Regions from separate parts of the Homo sapiens genome. Here region 2 is linked to region 1. Evidence: promoter capture Hi-C in 16 types of primary human blood cells and fetal thymus (Javierre and others, 2016). All regions are on one chromosome and are shown on one strand. Each heading gives the region's core, a stretch centred on a gene start or on the middle of the fragment in contact. The rest is flanking DNA. Distances are from core to core; before and after follow the strand shown.

Region 1 (2,793 bases), core at 219-2,718:
CTATTGTGCTTTTCACCGTGAAAATGTTTGCCTGCCGCTCTCAGATCTGCCTGCCCTGCTGTCACTCTGGGCCAGTGCTGGAGCTGGCACGGGTGGTGAGGCAAGCCTGGCATCCAGGCCAACCACGCTGCTCCTGCCCTCACCGCGCAGCAGCCGGGGCTTCTCTCCATTGTTCTTGCCCTCCCAGATTTTCAAGCTACCCCATAGAAGGGCAGCCTACAGTGTAAACACTTCATTAGGTATAATTCTGCCTTCACAATTATTTTTATTTTTGCTTTGGATCTCAAAAGCATTTGACTCGCCTTTAATATTTGTTCTTTTGAACTCAGTGTTTTTCCTTTAAAAGAGAAAAGAAAGAATTTGTCCTTTCTGTGAATGGTAAAATTAACCCAATTCCAGGAATTGTTTGGCATTTCTCTACATTTCCACTATCCATGTAAAAAGCTGGTGGAGGCTGAACTAAAAGTTAGTTTCCCTGCTTCCCCGACCTTTTTCTTCCAGTGGATTTTATATGGAAAGCTCTCAGGTACAGCATTGCTTTCTGCTTCAGTAAGAATGGTCCTGCTACCATAACACATCATGTGCCCCTATTTGAAGGTGGTTTGAGGTAAAAGCAAACTTCCGAGAGAAAACCATGATCTGAATATTTTGAACCAATTGTACAGTGCCCATATGCTGAACCTTTGCTTCTCTGCTTCGAGACTGGATATCTACTTGTTATCTGGATGCTTGCTTTGGGGTACACTCAGCTGAATGTTAGTGGCACCCATATTCCTCTCAGAACTAACTAGGCAGGCACAGAGTGAAAGAGTTTCAAAGATATCCTTTCTAAGCGGAGGTTAAGTTTATACAATAGAAGTTTATAAGCTTACCACCTTTAATTAAGCTTACTGCCTTTAATTAAGTCAACATGCTATGTAAATTAATATTAATATTAATATGTGAATCAGACCATAAATAAAAATTAAAATTCACACAAAAGATAAGTTAAGGTTTGCCAATCCACTTTATAAAGGAATTCCTTATTACTTAATAGGAATCTTCACTTTACCAAAGGACTGAACTTCAAAATGTTCAATGCTCTGCTAACACATTGAAAACAGGATTTGATTCATACACAGCTTCTCAAAAGCAGATCCCATTTAGTAGAGTGAGGTCTAACTAGTCTGAAAATCGCATGCAATCCCTTTAATGCATAATTCCCCATTCCCTTTGGTTCACACTGTGTTGAGCCAACAGAGCCTCCTGCATGGTTCCTGGGCTCACAACCCGTGCAGACCCTGACATCTTCCCAAAACCCAAGGCACAGAGAATGTTAGGCGACTTACCCCTGTGATCACAGCACAGTCAGACACAGTTACTAGGAGGAGCATGATTGAGACTCGCGTGGCACCTCTCATGGTCACTTGGGGTGAAGGCAAAACACTGCCTGCTTAGATGCCTCTCGCTTCCTCCCGCTCAGCCTTGTGCCTGGCAAGCTGGGGAGGCCAGGCTCTCCTGCATCCCCCGCCTCCTCCCAGATGTTTACACTCAGGATCCAGGGCTGCCTGTGGATGCCTCATCTCTGCTCTTCCCTTCTCCAACACCGATGTTACTCAGATGATCTCAGAAGCGAAGATGAGACCTGAATCTCTAACAACATCAAATCAACATCAAAACCAATAAAAATGGATACTTGGGGGGCTTTGACGGTTGCTCTAACTCTCCCAAGAACGCAGTGATTCAGACAGTTATGTATATTTCACTCAATGTTCTTTTCTGCCTCTGGGTATCCTTCTATCCTACTTGGGGCAGAGGAAAGCCTCTGGTAATGAATTAAGGGATTTGCAACATCACCATTTATGCTTCCCTGCACCAAACTATGCAACATACAAGATTATTGGTTCCCTCTCACTCACACCAAGACTTATCTAGGCATTTACCATGGGCTCAACACAGAGGTAGCTGAGAAGACAGAAGAGGGTGAGGTGGTATCCTTATTTCTCTAAAAGGTTAAAATTATAGTGAGGAGCCATAAGACAGTGAGGAAAAAAAGACCAGACTTGTGGGGCTGATGTTCCTAAGTGACACACACATAAGGATTTGCTCTCTCATGGGCTCAGGATGAACACCAGCAAGTGTCCCTTGGTACAATGACCCAAGGGCAGAAAGCCAGCAAACATACAGGGCACACACTCTCTCAGTACCCTGCAGAGCCGAGCTGGTATGGGCTGTGGCTGAAAGGTACCAGAGCCACACCACTGGCCTTCCAGTTTTAGGGGTGAGCATGAGAGTGGCCTTATCCGTGAGTGTATAAACACGGTGGTCTCAGATGCCAGTCTGGTGGGAAGTTGACTTTCGGGATGGCCCCTCCGCCTGTGAGGGAAGCCCCTGACCCCAGCCCTCTCTGTGTCATACGACCCAGAGAGAGCTCCCAGTGCTTTGTCAGATGATCTGCCTTCTCTCCACAGTAATAAAAGCCAACATTTCCCAAGGTATGTGTTGCAATATGTTAATACACAAATAAACAAATAAAAGACTTCTACAGTCAAAAATTTGGGAAACACAAACCGGCTTGTTTTTTGCAGAACTTTTCAGGGCCTTTCATATGCTAATAAGTGTTTGAAACACCAAGTGGGAAATGCAGTTTGTAGTATTTCACAAGCAGATTCATCCACAAAACCTTTCTTATCAAATGTCACAGGGGTCTAGGGTTTCCACATTGAAACGCTGATAGGCATTTATGAGTGCAGAGAGGAAGGTTAACTAGCACGGGAGCTGGGAGCTAAGCCCCCAGAGGCAGATGCTTTGATT
Region 2 (2,793 bases), core at 81-2,580, 220 kb after region 1:
TCACCAGGTTACTTGCTGACAGGGGAAACATCCCCAAGACAGGAGCCTGGGACTACCCAGCTGGACTGGCAATTCCCAGATGCACTTTTCTTGGGACATTCCACCCACACAGTCAGCAGAAACAACAGAAATCAGTGAAGGGGACGGGAAACTCTGGGTGGGGCAAGGGCTTAGGGAGACACAGCCTAACAAAGAAGACAAACCACCAATAGCACGTGCACTACACACAAGAGTATAATATGTATGAATATAGATACTATATGTGCATATATATCTCTTCGATGTACAATGGAACAGAACATCAGACCCAGATGGCTCTGGGCCCCGAGGGTCGCATGGGAGATTTTCCACCAGTCCTGTGCAAACAAGGATATCTGAGTCTTTCCCAGCGAAAAGATTCTTGTCTGGGTTCCAGAGTTTCCCTAAGCCTCTGGCTTTCTGTCTGTCTGCCTGTCTCTCTCACGTTGGTGCCGCTTTAAGAGAGGGTGAGGACTTCAGCCTGGGCATAGTTGGACGAGAGGGCGTCTTGGCAGGTCTCTGTGTTTAAAGAGCACAGGTGTGAGACACTGGGACGCACGCTTTCGGCTCAACATTGCCTTCTGGGGTTGGGGGGACAGGGAGTTCAGCAAAAGAAAGGGAGAAACAAAGAATGAGACGTTAGAAGGAAGCCAGCTGCTGACCCACAGGGTGTGGGCTAAGGAGTAGACCAGGAGCAGAGCTGGAAGGCATGAGGAACCCAGGGCTAAAAGGCCAGGAAGAGCATGGATGGGTCAGGGAATGGGGTGAACCCTTCACCCCTCTGCCAACCCAACTCTGGTGACTCAGGTGATGTTGTAGCTCATCGCCATACCTGTTCAGGTAACCACTAGCTCCAGGAACCACTAGCCTCTTAGGTCTTCAAAGCTCCAGTGCAGTGGAGAAAGGGACCATAGCTCTGCAGCCTTGCATGGAGGCAGTGGGGAAAGTTCCTGATGTGGCCTGTGGCTCACAGGCCATCACCCCAGCTGTTGCCTGACCAACTTGAGCTCTCCCCCAAGTAGCTCCATCTGCTGTCACCACCCTGGGATATTCCATTGTCCCAAGGAGCTGGTGAAGAAGGCTCCTGAGTATGATGCCATGTCGTGCCCAGCCCCCTTCCTCAATGTGGCAGGAACAGAGTCCCAGCAGTTGGAGGGCATGCAGCCTCAGGTGAATGCTGAAGGGGAAGGTCACGGAGGACGAATGTGCCTGTCTCAGGAGAGAAGGTCAGGAAATAGTACCTTATTGAGAAACCCAACCCCTCAGAGAGCCCTTTTGGGATCCCACCCTCAGCCTGGGATGTCTACCACCTGGGCCTTTCCTTCCCCTACCTTACCAGTGGGAGCACAGGTAGGGCAGGTAGGAGTACTGCTGTCCCAGCTGCAGATCTGGGTCAACAGTGGAGGTGGGAGTTCCAGACCCGCTGGGACAACCCCTGCAGCTCTCGGGTCTGAGGTCTAGGGCTAGGCCTCCTGTCAAGGTGGAGTGCAGATGTGGCATCCAGACCTCACAGCTTCCATCCTGGGCTTCGGGGTGCCTCCATCACCTTTCTAGGGAAGGGGTGTCCTCATCTTGGGGTGATGCTGTTTCCATCTTCTTAAGACTGTATGCCCCAGCCACCTCCTTAAACACTGCCCCTTTGCCTACAAGTGTTCTGGGCCTCTGAGTACTATCCTTGAAATCAGAGGAATTCAGGGTTCTTCAGAGCCCCATTTCTGAGGACACGCAGACAGAGCTGTGGTCTTGCCCTGTACTCCTGTCTGCGTAACTTAAGCAACACCTGCCACTGATCCCCACTCATTAGGGGACAGGGAAGTGCCTCTGGGCTCCCAGTAGGCAATTAGGCCCTAAGATGCACCGGTGAGAATGCCTGGGCTACTGAGGGGTCTAGGATGGGTCTAGGATGAGACAGAAGGAGTCACAGCAAGGCTGTCAAGTGTCCCAGAAGCCAGGGAGCAGAGCAGCCCATACTGAGATAATGGCCTTAGATTGCTTTTCCACTGGCTTCCATGGACTCTCCATCCTCAGGGACCTCTGAGAGTTGGGGAGGGGTCTTCCTAGGAATCTCATCCTGGATTCTTACCTATTTGACCCACCAGGGGTGGGGCAGGGATTTCAGAGGGTGACGCTGGCCAGAGCAGAGCAGGCCCTCCTCTCCCAGGAAGCTCTGTGAAAGGGCAGCCTGGGCCCTGCAGCCAGTCCATGGCCTCCCCTCTGGCTCCTGTCAGCCAGCTTCTAGGTTGCAGTGCCCTTCCTTCTGGTTCTACCTCTCAGAAGCCCTGAAAATTGGTCTCTAGGTTGCCAGTAACCCTGCTACAGACTGGAAGGCGAGGTTGTGAACTCCTACCCAGACTGCCTCCCAGTTCTGTGGGAAGGGGCTGAGCTCCAGCTGCAGGGGAAAGGCATCTGACAACAAAGTAGTGGGTGCAGGTCCAAGTCTAGCCCAAGGAAAACAAACTCTACTCTCAGATGGTGGGTGGGAGAGAGCCTTCTCTCAAGGAGGGAGGCTCAAGGCCTGGGTGAGCCTGACGCCTGTACAGGCAGCCACTTCCTGTGGCAGTGCCTGGTATGCAGGGGTTCTGCAAATGCCTGGGCTCACCCTGCCCTTTCCCAGGGCCCTGGGCAGGCCCAGAGGTGCTGAGAGGTTGTAAGGGCAGACAGTCTACTCAGCCCTCCTGCTATCTGGGTTCTATCTCTCCCAGATGAAGCCAGAGAGCCAGGAGGGATGTGTGGGAGCCAGCTCCCCGAGGCATTAGGGCTCCAGCCTGGCAATGC

Evidence for each region. Contacts are between HindIII fragments. The CHiCAGO score rates a contact against its expected background, and 5 or more counts as called.
Region 2: a contact is called between a fragment that was not itself captured here and the fragment with the promoter of PROK1 in region 1, in 1 of 17 cell types (neutrophils). The highest score is 7.2, in neutrophils.

What each region holds. Positions count from the first base shown.
Region 1 is chr1:110,449,824-110,452,616 of GRCh38, reverse strand. It overlaps PROK1 (prokineticin 1), which reads right to left and starts at 1,468. Exons shown (of 3, transcript NM_032414.3): 1 at 1,329-1,468. The coding sequence starts at 1,400. The HindIII fragment of the contact is 11,265 bases long and covers 889-2,793 here.
Region 2 is chr1:110,230,655-110,233,447 of GRCh38, reverse strand. KCNC4 (potassium voltage-gated channel subfamily C member 4) reads right to left here. Exons shown (of 4, transcript NM_001039574.3): 4 at 1-537. The coding sequence ends at 476. Among named protein-coding and RNA genes, the nearest start is that of KCNC4, 22 kb to the right of the region's middle. The HindIII fragment of the contact is 6,522 bases long and covers 1-2,793 here.